2 separate regions of the Homo sapiens genome follow, and region 2 is linked to region 1. The links are contacts of gene promoters, found by promoter capture Hi-C in blood cells and fetal thymus (Javierre and others, 2016). All regions are on one chromosome and are shown on one strand. Each heading gives the region's core, a stretch centred on a gene start or on the middle of the fragment in contact. The rest is flanking DNA. Distances are from core to core; before and after follow the strand shown.

Region 1 (7,021 bases), core at 2,118-4,617:
GGCGGAAGTGTGGGTTAAGCTTATCAAGTCCTTGACCCCAACATATATCAGTGAAATAGCCACCACTGCCAGACACCCCAGCAGGCCAGATGCAGGCGGCAGCTTACACATGAGGAAATGATTTCTATCTCTAGGTTCATTCTTTTCTTCCTCCACTCCTTACCAAAGTCTCACTGTGCATGTGATTTTAACTGAACTGTGCACTTCACTTTTACTTCTTGAGGGCGGGAACTAACTAAGCCTTAATCATATTTGTCTTCTCAGCATCTGACTCTGTGTTTGCTAAGTGAATGAATGATGCACTTCGGACCAAATGACGTCTGTTTAACTTGCAACTGGAAACCACCACAAACTGCCTGTTGACTACTGATTTGGATTTTAAGGTAAATACAGACATGTTTCTAAGGAGACGTTTTTGTGTGTGTTTTTTTTCAAAGGATGACTTCGTAAGCTAGCTAATCATTTCTCATAATTATGTCTGGATTCTAAAGAATTCTTTTTCTGCATTTTACTCTCTAGATATTTCATGTTCGTAACACATATATTCTACTGTAATATCCCTTTTCCTCCTCTCTTCTGTGAATGTCCCTCTTTCTTAAGGGGAAAGTGTTAACATTGCTCATAACTCAGTCTGCCATAGCGCATCTGATCACTCCACCCTGTGCACCTTCTGACTTTTAATTTCCTTCCAACACCCTCGACTTTTGATCTCCAAGCACAAGGGCTATACTTTTATTTATTAGGTTTAATTTACTGTAAAGCTCATTGTTCCCTGTGAATCGCACGATAACAGTCAATGAATAATCACTGGCTTCAGCCAGACTGCTTTTTAATTCTGCTGAGTAACTGGCAAGCCAACTAGTATTAAGGACAAAAATGTAAGGAACCCTGATATTGCCCCAGAACTAGGATAAGCCATTTTATTATGAACATGTGACTGCCCTCGTGCAGAGGTGGATCAGCTACAGGGCAGGACCCAGGGCAAGGGGGCTGCTTGGGGCAGCCTCAGACTCTTTGGAAGGGGAAATAGGGAGGACCAGGGACCTGGGTGGGAGGCAGGAGCTTAGGCTTACGATGACCCCAGCACACAGGCCCAGCTTCCTCTTCCCACAGCCTCCCTGCCGTCTTAGCTCTGCCATTTGGTCTTCCGGCCGGGATCCCTTTCCCAAGGCTTTCACACATTTAAACCCGCGAGGGGCAGGACTTTTTTTTTTTTTTTCGTGTATATGATAGTTTTTTCAAAATGTTTTCTATAAAATCCTCCCTGAGGAGAGCTTGGAAAAAGATTCTTAATAGCTAGATCATTTTGAGTCCTTCTCTACCATGTACTCAACACTCTAACATATTCTGCACATTTGGTTCTATGTCATTTGCCATAGTCTTAAGGACGTAGGTTCCATAATCATCCCTTATTCTGTAGAGGAGGCCCAAGGTTAGTGAGCAGAGGAAGGTTCCACTGTCGGGAACCGGTGGTCTTCAAACTCCTGTGCTCCTCTTTTGATATCTTTCTGCTCATATATGTTGGAAACAGCCCAGCATGAGCAAAGCACCACCTCCTAGCCCCCAGCCTGTGCCAGCCCTGCAAAGAGGAAATATGGCTCCACTCAGGGAGCCCATCAGCGACTCAGGGAGCCCTGGAGCACCTGGCACTCAGCACCCATGAACACGAGGGCAGGCATGGTGGGACAAGGCAGTCTGCTTGGGGCAAGTGAGCTTCGGGAAGTAGCTGAGCTTTGGGGAGCAGCTGTCTATACCCAGCTTCTCAGGGCTGTGCAAGTAGCCTGAGGGAGAAAGACCCTATATTAGCTGAAACTGCAGCCCAGATGAGTCAGTATTTTCTGCTACGGTTTTTTAAAAAAATAGTAACATACTCATGTCTCCATGGTAACTTACTATGGATCTGTATTCCATTTATGGAACTCTTTCTTGACCTATCTGTGTTCTCTAATCTGGGCCTGAATATACACTGAGAAGCCATCAGAATCAATTCAGTCTCCAAGAAATAATCACTTCCCCTATACGTGATTGTTTCAGCCGTATAGATTCTGACTGTGACTCATGCCACGGTGATACCCGGAGACCTTCGGGGACCCAGAAACATTAAGGTGCACCGATATCTCAATTATCCGGATAACTCTAGACCTAGAGTCACCATGGAAACCTAGAACCCTGAGTCACAGAGAAGCTGGGCCATTCCTCTCCCTTCCCGGTGGTGCCGCAGTTCTTGAGATGTGAGCAGCTTTCAGCCCCGTGGCCTCGCCTAAGCTGGGGTTTCCTATTTCATCCACAACTTCAGGAATCTAAACTTTCCTGCAAAATATTGAGCATGTGACCTGAGTCCAAACAGCCATGGACTCAAGCACCTTCTGATAAAAACGGAAACCACAGTGTAGGGGGTGGTTTTGACCAGGGTTTCGGAGTCAGATAAACTCAGGTTTCCACCTTGAATTTCTCATCAATCTGACGTGGCAGGTTATTCATCCTAAGGTTCAGTTCCCACCTGTGTAAAGTGGGAGCCGCAAGTCCTCCGAGAGTGACGATGATGTGCGTGGAGTGCCCAGCCCAGATTGAAGCGCGGCCAAGGCGGGTCGCTATCTGGGCACCGCTCAGCTCCAGAGGGCGCCACTCCCGCGGAGCCTGCGGGATCGGGGCTTCCCGGGAGCAGCGCGATCAGCACCACGACTCGGGGACACAGCCAGGGCCCGGTTTCTACAGGAAGCGCCTCATTTGGAGCCTTTTTGTGATAGAATGATCATTAGTCCTAAGCCCATTCAGAGGTTCAAGAATGGGGTCGGCTCAATTTCAGGGCCTTATTACCCAAGCCCGGCTGCCCTTCGGTGCCACCAGCACCACTGCTCCGTCGCTGCGGAATTCCAAAGGCAGGTTTGGCGTTAGGGCCTTGGCCCCAGAGAGGACGCCGAGCGCTCCACGGAAAGTCTCCGCCCGGCTCCCAGGGCGCACACTCGCGCGCACGTGGGGCCGAGGCCCTGCTCCCGGGGCCTCAGGGCCAGCCGGCGAGGGACCCAGCCGAGTGACAGCAGGAGGCGGAGGGAAGGTTGGGCCGGAAGGTGTCAGCCCCGCCCCGCGCTCCCTCGCCGCCTCCGCCCTCCTCTTCTCTCCCCTCGTGCGTTCCCTCTCCTCTCCCTCCGCTCCCCCAACCCTCCTGCTGCCCCCTTCCCTCTCCTCCCGCTTCTCCCCATCCTGCCTACCTCCCTTCCCCTCCTCTTCTCTCTCCTCCCCTTCCCTCCCCTCTCTCTTCTCTCCTCCCTCGTTTCCTCCCCTCCCCTCCACTCGGCCGTCCCTCCTTCCTCCTCCCTCCTCCCTCCTCCTCCCGCTCCTGAAGAGCGCGCCGCGTGGGGGACGGCCCGGTTACTTCCTCCAGAGACTGACGAGTGCGGTGTCGCTCCAGCTCAGAGCTCCCGGAGCCGCCCGGCCAGCGTCCGGCCTCCCTGATCGTCTCTGGCCGGCGCCCTCGCCCTCGCCCGGCGCGCACCGAGCAGCCGCGGGCGCCGAGCAGCCACCGTCCCGACCAAGCGCCGGCCCTGCCCGCAGCGGCAGGGTAAGAGCTGGGCCCGCAGAGAGCGCCCGGCGCGCGGCTCCAGTCCCATGGAGGGTCACCCGGGGCCTGGGCGGGGGTCGCGGGGGGCACTGACACGCAGATCTCGGGGCGCTGCCGGGGGTGCAGGTGGGGGTGGCGGCTGCTGCGAGGACTCTAGGGGCGCGCGTCTGAGTTCCGCGCCGGCTCGTTTTCCGGTTATGGAGTGGCCTCCGGGGCTGGCGGGGTCGGCCGGGGGGTTCCTGCGTGCTAGGGCCGCTGTCTTCGGGGTCGCCTAGCGGCGGGCGCGGCCAGGGCGCGCTGGCTTGTTTCGCTCGCTTTTGTTTTTAAAAGGAAACGCAGGCCTGGTAGGGGGTCCTGCCCAGTGGATGTCCCGGCGAACATGATTTCGCGAACGGGAGTGGGGGCACAGGAGAGCGTGTCCGAGGTGGCCTGGCGCCCCGGCTTTGAGGGTGACTTCCTGGAGCGGCGCCGGGCCCGGAGGATCTGGGGCGCCCAAGACACCTGAAGGCTGCGGCACCGCGGGAACCTGCGGGGCGCGGGGTGCCATGGTCACCTGCTCGCCGCGTCCAGGGCCCGGGCTGGGGACCCCTCGGTCGTGCGAGGAGAGCGTGGGGAACCTGTCGGAAATGAGATCTGGTTGCGCTGGGCTGCCTTTATTTTCTCGTTCCTACAGCATTTGAATGAAGAGGTAACTGAGTGTTTGCTTGTGTGTGTTTGGGTTGCGTGTGTGTTATCCTATTTTATTTTTTACGGCAGGAGACCTTTTATGTTAGCCTGTACACAATTTCAGGGTAGCCTAAAACAGTAGTTGACGCGCTAGTTATTTAGAAAGTAAAGAAATGAGCAGTCCCCTTTGGAGACAGGAGTAATTTATTTTAATTCGCCAGTAAGAGATTATATTTGTTCCATACAATGGAAGCGCCTGTGCGTTATCTGCCTGCCCACACCACCACCAATCAGAGAGATAAATCTCCACGTTAAGCTTTATTAAAATTCTGAGTAGTAGCGCAGCACAGTAAATGTTAGCACCGACCATCCGCAGGGAAATGCTCAGATACTCATTTCTGGGATTAGTCATTCATCTCTCTAAACTGATCGCTTTCAAAGCGAAAAAAGCAAACTACCTTCAAATGTGTGTTACAAGGTTGTGTTGTTTCTTTTTTTTGTTTGTTTTCAAATTTATCTAAATAATCTTACATAAGTGATTACTTGTTCCAATAAGGGTACTGTTGTCAGGCAAATTCTCCTTGTTTTTAAATGTAACCATTCTCAGCTGTTACATTTCTGCTCTTTATCCTTTTTTTTTTTTTTTTTTGGTTTAAAAGCAGCGATCCATCAGCAACACCAAACTTGAAATTGATTTATGTGGAAAAACTTGGCTTGTCTGCCATCTAACAAGCCCTGTTGAGTAAAATAAGCAAGCTTAAATTTGATTAGTTGTGTGTCTGCCTGAAACCATTTAGTAGAGCACTTTAATTCTGCATGGTTTTTACAAAACTCATTAAAAGCTGGACAACAAAAGAATTCTATTCTGTAGCTAGTAATTACAGCTCTTTATGTGGGAGTGGTAGGCTGCCTTTTCTCCTGGTATTTGTACACAAAAGCTGGGGAGAGCTTTTCCACTGCCTTCCACATTCATTCTCTGTCCATCTCAGAGAAGCTGAAAAACAGAATCAAGTCAGCAAGCAGTCTGCAAGCCTAAGGAAGAAAAAGAGCTGACCCATCCGGCTCTGGATGGATAACTGGCAACACCCAAGATGTCTATGATTTTGGCCTTCTGTTTGAGGCTTGTTTATTTCTTTAATCAGCAGCTACCAGGACTTATTTCATGCAGAGAAATGACATAAAGCTCTAGAGGAAGGAGCATTTCACATTGGAAGGAGTAGTGAGAAGGGCCTGATCTGATAATATCAGGATGGGTGGGAAGGGTCCATTCCTCATCATTCATGTTCTCCCGGCACAGAGGACTGTGTGGAGGACTCAGGATTTAGGACCATACTCAACTGGGGTTTGATCTCCACTTTGCCCTGCGGTGGCCCCTCTGGTAGCTATGTGGATCCTGGGCAGATTGTCCATGTTGCTGGGCCTCCGTTGCTTCACTGTATGACGTCTGCCTCTCAGGGATGCAGGAAGATTCAATTAGGTAGGAGTGGATGGTCCCCCAGCACGGGGCTTAGCTCTTAGTAACTAGGCATTCTGGCAATGGCAGCCATCAATAGGAGAGACTATTGATTGTTGAGTGAATATAAGTGGCATAATCCACCAAGTGGAGATTCTGAGTGAATGTGGCCACTTTGGACCCAAGACTGCTGCCCCTCTCTGTCCTCTCATAGGACTATTATTTATTGCCAGTGCTGACCAGCCTTTGTTGGCTACCATGATCATTACCTGCACTCCGAGTGTTTTAACAGAATTTTCTGATGCCTCTGGCCTCACCTGCTGCCTTTTAGCCAAGAGGGGTGTGTGTGTATGTGTGTGTGTGTGTGTGTGTGTGTGTTGGGTGTGTGTTGGGTAGCAGGGTTCTTGGAAGGTCTGGTTTAGCCATAATGTTGATCATAAAGAGAAAACAAGAAAATAAATGCAAATTAAATAGTTCGGTGAGCCTTTGTTATTTCGCCACATCCAGTAAGTTCTATCAGTTGAATGTTGTCTGAATTACTTAAAAAGTTCTCAGTTGTAAACAGGTAAGAGCACCCAGTGGAGGCCATGGAGCTAGGCTTAGAGCTTTGCCACCAGCCTTCAGTTCCATAGCCATGAACCTGGGAGGGCAAGGAATCACCCTAGAGGTGAAGGCCATTCATCGGTGCTAACCCAAGGTCTCTGAAAATGAGTTTTAGTTACTCTATTATCTAAGTATCTTTCTTACTGATATGTAACTTACCTGGCTGAACAATTACATTTTAGAGCTCCAAATAAATTTTCAGCCTATTATGTCATTGTCCAATTACAAGCCTCATTGTAATAGCCATGTTAAAAACAATAAAGCCGGTGAAATTGATTTCAGTGTATTTCAAATTAACCTAATATATTCGAAATATTATGTATGTATAAAAATTATTGAGCTTTTTTCTTTTTTCCACTAAGTCTTTGAGAGCTAGTGTGTATGTGTGGATTTGTACTAGCCACTGGTTGAGAGCTCTGTAGCCACACATGGCAAGTGGGTACCATATTGCTTAGCCCAGGCCTAGTAGAAGATTAAGACTCAGTCAGAGGAAGTAAGGCAGATCCGTGCTTGGAATCAGTTCCTCTTGAAGAAGTGCACAGCCAAGCAACACACAAAGCAGAAATATTTTGAGCTCTGTATTCAAAGCAGGAAGATCTGGGACCATGTAAGGGGGTTTGGTCTTCAGTTCTCCCTTTGATCCCTTCCCTGGGTGTGTGCTTTCTTACAGCCTGGAGAGTGGAAGGGAAGAGAGGGGGCTTCCTGGACTCCTTTCCTGTCTCTAGAAATGACCCCTGCAG
Region 2 (6,444 bases), core at 1,395-3,894, 67 kb after region 1:
GTGGTGAGAGTACTGAAGATCTACTCTCTTAGCAATTTTCAAATCTAAAATACATTATTATTAACACAGTCACTGTGCCGTACGTTAGCTCTGAGGACCTTATTCATTTTATACCTAAAAGTCTGTATCCTTTAACCAACCTCTCCTAATTTCCCACTGTCATCCCTACTGCCACCTCTGGTAACCAGCCTTCTGCTCTGTTTCTGAGTCCAACCTTCTTAGATTCCACATATGAGTGAGATCATGCTGTGCAGTGTTTGTTTTTCTGTGTCTGGCTTGCTTTCACTTAGCATAATGTCCTCCAGGTCCACCCATGTTGTTGCAAATGGCAGAATCTTCTTCTTGTTAAAGACTGAATAATATCCCTGTGTGTGCGTGCATGTGTGTGTGTGTTTGTGTGTGTGTGTGTATCACATTTTCTTCATCCATTCATCCATCAATGGACACTAAGCACTAAGGTTGATTCCGTATCTTGGCTATTGTGAATAATGCTGCAATAAACATATGAGTCCAGATACCTCTTCAAGATACTGATTTCATTTCCTTTAAATATATGCCCAGAAGTGGGATTGCTGGATCATATGGTAGTTCTATATTTAGTATCTTGAGGAATTTCCATACTGTTTTTCATAATGATTGTAGCAATCTATATTCCCATCAACAGTGTACAAGGGTTCCATTTTCTACATGGCCTTACCAACGTTTGTTATCACTTATCTTTTTGATAATAGATATTCTAGCAGGTGTGAGGTGGTATCTCATTGTGGTTTTAATTTGCATTTTCCTGATGATTAGTGGTGTAGAGCATCTTTTCATATTCCCATTGGTAATTCGTATATCTTCCTTTGAGAAATATTTATTCAGATCTTTTGCCCATTGTTAGCTGAGTTATATGTGAGTTGGTTTTGGTTTGTTGTTGTTTTTTGTTTTTGCTATTGAGCTGAGTTCCTTGTATATTTTGGATATTAAATCCTTCTCAGCTGTATGGTTGACAGATACATTCTTGCATTCTGTAAGTTGCATCTGTAGGTTGCAACAGAGTCTCTTTACTCTGTTGATTGCTTGCTTTACTGTGTGAAAGCTTTTTTAGCTTGATGTAATTGTGTTTGTCTATTTTTGCTTTTGTTGCTTGTACTTTTAGTGTCATATCCAAAAAGTTATTGCCCAGACCAGTGTCATCCCCTATGTTTTCTTCTAGTAATTTTAAAGTTTCAGGTCTTATGTCTATGTCTTTAATCCATTTTGAGTTAATTTTTGTGTAGGGTTTAAGATAAGAATCCAATTTTATTTTTATTTTTTGTATATGGATATCCAATTTCCCCAACACCATTTATTGAAAATTCTATCCTTTCTTTGTTGTGTATTAACATCAGAATAATATTTTTAAATACATAAAATTCAGAAGATGACAAAGGAAACCAATTACATTGAAATGCATACAGAGTTATAATTCTGAAAGAGCAATATATGTGCCTCTTTGTAAACACATCATATATCAAACTGCAGTGACCGTTCTAACAACTATTGCAATTTCAAAGTCATGTTGAGTAGGAGGAGTACTTTGAGATTCTGAAACAACGTTCTTGTGCTATGAAATATCCATGATTTTGATTGGTGATGGTATCCCAGGTCTTGTTAATGCTGCTGTAATCTGTTGCTTCCATTCCATAGTTGAATAAAATGCTTGATATCTGTTGGAAATTAGTAAAAATAAAAACGTATTTTTTTCCATCCAAGTTCATTCTCAGACCCTGAAGAGTCACTTCTCTGGATTCTGCAGCAAAGTTCCCAGCTGGGGCAGCAAGATTTAGGCAATTGAAAAGAACATACACCTTGTTCTCAGTGGCAAACCACATGGAAAGCTTTAAATGTCAGAGAAGAATTCTGCCATTTTGCTGACTTTTTTGTAGTTCTCCTAATAAACAAGTGTTAAGTGACAAGCTTTTCAGAGGAGATAATTTTCTTCCAAGTGGTCTTTTTATTTACCTGAATATTAAGTTCAAAGACACTCTAGTCTCTCAAAGGAAACCTGTGGGTGGAGTGTTTTTTAAAATGTCAAATTCCAAACGAAGCTGAAGGGCACAGCCTCAAGAAGGTTCTGTGTTCACCAGTGCACAGGGACGTGTCAGCCCTTTATTGCCATTGTCTACATAACATTTTTCAAGTTCTCTGAGTTGTGAGGCTGTCAGTATGAAGACTCCTATTTTTTCTGCTATTAAATTTTTTTTTCCTCCAACTTTTTCTTTTTCTTTTTCTTTTCTTTTGAGATACAATCTCGCTCTGTCACCCAGGATACTGGAATGCAATGCAGCCTTGAACTCCCAGGCTCAAACAATCCTCCTGCCTCAGCCTCCAAAGTAGCTGGGACTACAGGCATGCACTGTGGTGTGGTTTGTCTCTGTGTCCCCACCCAAATCTCATGTTGCATTGTAATTCCCAGTGTTAGGGGAAGGGCCTGGTGGGAGGTGATTGGATCATGGGGGCAGATTTCTCCGTTGCTATTTTCGAGATAGTGAGTGAGTTCTCATGAGATCTGATGGCTTAAAAGTGTGTGGCACTTCCCCCCACCCCCTCTCTCCTGCCACCTTGTGAGGAATGTCCTTGCTTCTCCTTCACCTTCTGTCATGATTGTAAGTTTCCTGAAGCCTCTCAGTCATCTTTCCTGTACAGCCTATGGAACTTTGAGTTAATTAAACCTCTTTTCTTCATAAATTACCCAGTCTCAGGAGTTCTTCATAGCAGTGATGATGAATACACACCATCACACCCAGCTAATTTTTCTTTATTTTTTTAGTAGAGATGTGGTCTCACTATGTTGCCCAGGCTGTTCTCAAACTCCCGGGCTCAAGTGACCCGCCTACCTCGGCCTCCCAAAGTGCTGGTATTACAGGCGTGAGCTGCCGCACCCAGCCCTCCTCCAACTGCTGCTGGTTGCTATCATAGGTTCTCACTGGGTGTCCACCTAACATGTCCCTTCAGGAAGGCTGGTGTCCTGACATTCGGTAGCGGAGGCCTGGTGTTGAGCTCACCTGCATTTCTGCCCCCTTCTCTGGCTTTCTGGGGATGCCCTCCTCAACCTGAAAATGACTTCCAACTCCTCAGCACAGAAGTGGGCACGTGACCCAAGCAGGTCCAGGATTCCATAAGATCCCAAACACAAAGGATCCTGTAATCCTGGGGCTCCAGTGGCCGTCTTGTTCCTTTTGGAGAACTAACCTATTGCAGAGAAAGTAGTAGAGCTAAAAGAAAGAGAAAGAATCCTGATAGCATCTGTGACTCTGGATCCAGCTATCCATAAAGCGCCATACGCTAATGCGCTCAATTACCCAAGTCAATGAGTCCCCTTAGAAGCTTAAGGCAGTTTGATCTGAGTTTCTGCCACTTTCAGGAGGAAGAATCTTATTGGTATATTTTATAATAATCCGGCTGATATGCAAACTGTCTTCAATAGAATGCTCTGTCCAGAGTCACAGTGGAGTCCATCGCAACAAATAAGGTCAGACAGCTCACAGCTACAACTGGGCTCATGCCTTCCAAGTATCAAAGTCATAACAAACTTCCTCTGTGTGAGTCCACAAGGCATTCTTCCTCTGGGGGAATCACTCCCTTTCCATTGTCCTGATACTCCCTCTGTGGGGCTGTAGAGGAGTGCATGGCTTTTGCCCTACTTCCAAGCCTTCTCAGGGAACACAGCAGGGACAAAGAGCTGAAGGCTCAGCCTTGGCCATGGCCCATCAGGCCCACTGCAGGCTTCTCCTGGGAGAAGATCCAGAGCCTCGGGCTCTGGGCTCCCATATGCAGGGAGAACCTCCGACCACAGAAATTGGAAGGAGCTACCACTGCCTAGGAGACATCTTCCCTTGAGCTTTTTCAAGGGCTGAACAAACAGAGCCCACACTTGTTCACGGAATCCATGGGCCTCAGCACATCAGAGAGAGGAGAAGAAATTGACCCAGAGTGTAACCCACCCCCATCTTCGGGCCCCACCAAGAATTGTCAGTGATGCCAGAGGAAGAGGCACCTAATTCAACAGATCAATGGAGACTCACATCACCCACAAGCACCACTTATCTGCTATTTCATCCCACACCAGTACCTGATCATCAACCGTTGCAAACACTCATTGCTGTAATTGTATCATTAGTTTCAATCACAGCCAATTTGGGGCTGGCATGTGAATATCCTTTTCTGTTCCCACTGCTGATGAAATTTCAGAATTATAAGGTGAATGAAACCTAGTAGATTAAAGTAATTGTGAAACTGATGCTAAAGAACAGTCCTGTTCCCCATGCCGCCTAAACATGTAATTTCAGACATCAAACAGAATCTTTAAGCTGAAATAAAATCTCTACTTAGTCTAGCACCATTGTATTCTCTGTATGGGATGAAGGCAGCTCTTACCCCATCTATTAAGATTTATTATTAAAATTGCCTGGGGGCCGGGCGCGGTGGCTCACGCCTGTAATCCCAGCACTTTGGGAGGCCGAGGCGGGCGGATCACGAGGTCAGGAGATCGAGACCATCCTGGCTAACACGGTGAAACCCCGTCTCTACTAAAAATACAAAAAATTAGCCGGGCGAGGTGGCGGGCGCCTGTAGTCCCAGCTACTCGGGAGGCTGAGGCAGGAGAATGGCGTGAACCCCAGGGGGCGGAGCCTGCAGTGAGCCGAGATTGCGCCACTGCACTCCAGCCTGGGCGACAGCGAGACTCCGTCTCAAAAAAAAAATAAAAAATAAAAAATAAAATAAAATAAAATTGCCTGCGAATTAAAAAAATACATTTTTTCCCTTGGCAAAGTCAGCACCTAGCTATCTCAGTTAACTCTCTGGAGGAGAAAAAGGGGAACAGTGGTTGTGAAATTTGAGACTTGCAAGAGTGCCCAGGACTGCCTAGGCATAGACTAGACTGTTCCACCTAAATACTCCCATAGAAAATGCCCTAGGTGAAGTCTCCAGGTGCAGTTTTCAGAGCAAGGCCCTCACCCAGTTCTTCAGGTTCCATAATACATTAGTGACCACACTAAATCTTAAAGTCCTTGCCATCAGTTGACATAAAAGTCCAGTGAGAACTCTGGCCTTACCAGTGAAGACTAAGCCCCAAGAAAGCTGTGTGAGCTGTTGTATGTTGAGTCAGCCTCCAGCCAGTCTTCTACCCATTGCTAGAATAACAAATCAAGTCTCCTCCTTCAACTGGGACTCATGTGATCGTCACCCTCCTTGAAAGACAGCCCTGTCCTAACCCCCTCCAGAGCTGCCACATCCCTGGTCCCCAAACAATCAAGTGAGGAGGGAAGGCTACTGGCCACCCACAAGGCCCTGAAAGTACAGCGTGTTGACTCAGGAATAATCCAAGCCTATGGCAGGAGGAACAGGACTTTATGGAAGCTGGGAGACTGAAGAAGGAGTCACCATGGCAACCAGCTCTCCAGCTTTCATTCTCCTCCCCATCACTTGATCCAGACATTCTCCTTCCAGATCATAAGGCCTGACATCCATCCACTTCCTATCATGTGGTCACAGGCAGATCTCTCTACCCACTGGCAAAAAGTGGGCTGATGGAAATGAGCATTGGGTGCATGGTGCTTGGACTGGGTTTCATAGTTATCGCTCCAAAATCCATGGCCTCTTCGGAACCTCAGAATGGGACCTTATTTGGAAAAAGGGTCTTTACAGATGTAATGAGTTAGTATAACATCATTCTGAATCAAAGTGGGCCCTAAATCCAATGACTGGTGTCCTCTATAAGGAAAGAAAACAGAGACACAGAGACACACAGGGAAGAAGCCAAGTGAAGGCCAACGCAGAGGTTGGAGGGATGGAGCAACAAGCCGAGGAATGCCAAGGACTGCAGCAACCACCAGGAGCTTGGAAGAGGCATAGAAGCTACTAGAAGGAGCCAATCCTGCCAACTCCTGGATTTCACATTTCTGATCTCCAGAACCGTGAGAGAATACATTTCTGGTGTTTTAAGCCAAGCTGTTTGTGGTGCTTACTAAGCCAGCCACAGGAAACACACACAGGGCCACATGAACACTTCAAAATACAGCCATTGCGAAACCTGAAACCTGGAATCTAATTAGCCTGAACCAGCCATTAAAAGAAAAAGTGATGTATGCCTGATAACCATTCTCCATATTTTTATAAGGAGACAGAACCAGTAAGAAAAAGAACATAGATAAATTAATTCCCCCGTTTTACAAGATATTTATTTTACAAGTAACCTTCCAGGGAATTCCCTGGTATGAACAAATGCATGCATTATGAACCCATCCAATGATATTGAGTTCACTGCTGGAATCTGGGCAAAACACTGCAAGTTGCTCGGTGAAAACAGGTCCAATTGTGTTTGGTTTGCTCTAAGTCAGCTGCAGGGAGGCACTGCTCTGCCACAAGACAGGAGGGAGGAAAGCTGGGGAAATCAGATAGGTTTCCTTGTTGCAGGTG

The links. The method cuts DNA at HindIII sites, captures the fragments that hold promoters and counts their contacts. A CHiCAGO score of 5 or more calls a contact.
Region 2: a contact is called between a fragment that was not itself captured here and the fragment with the promoter of ETS2 in region 1, in 1 of 17 cell types (monocytes). The highest score is 5.4, in monocytes.

The regions. Positions count from the first base shown.
Region 1 is chr21:38,802,562-38,809,582 of GRCh38, forward strand. ETS2 (ETS proto-oncogene 2, transcription factor) reads left to right here and starts at 3,368. Exons shown (of 10, transcript NM_005239.6): 1 at 3,368-3,559. RefSeq lists enhancers at 2,167-2,667, 2,201-2,340, 2,521-2,580, 2,591-2,750 and silencers at 2,861-3,190, 3,211-3,280, 3,471-3,760, 3,871-3,970, 3,991-4,090. The HindIII fragment of the contact is 4,522 bases long and covers 18-4,539 here.
Region 2 is chr21:38,869,904-38,876,347 of GRCh38, forward strand. No RefSeq gene overlaps it. Among named protein-coding and RNA genes, the nearest start is that of ETS2-AS1, 65 kb to the right of the region's middle. The HindIII fragment of the contact is 1,410 bases long and covers 1,940-3,349 here.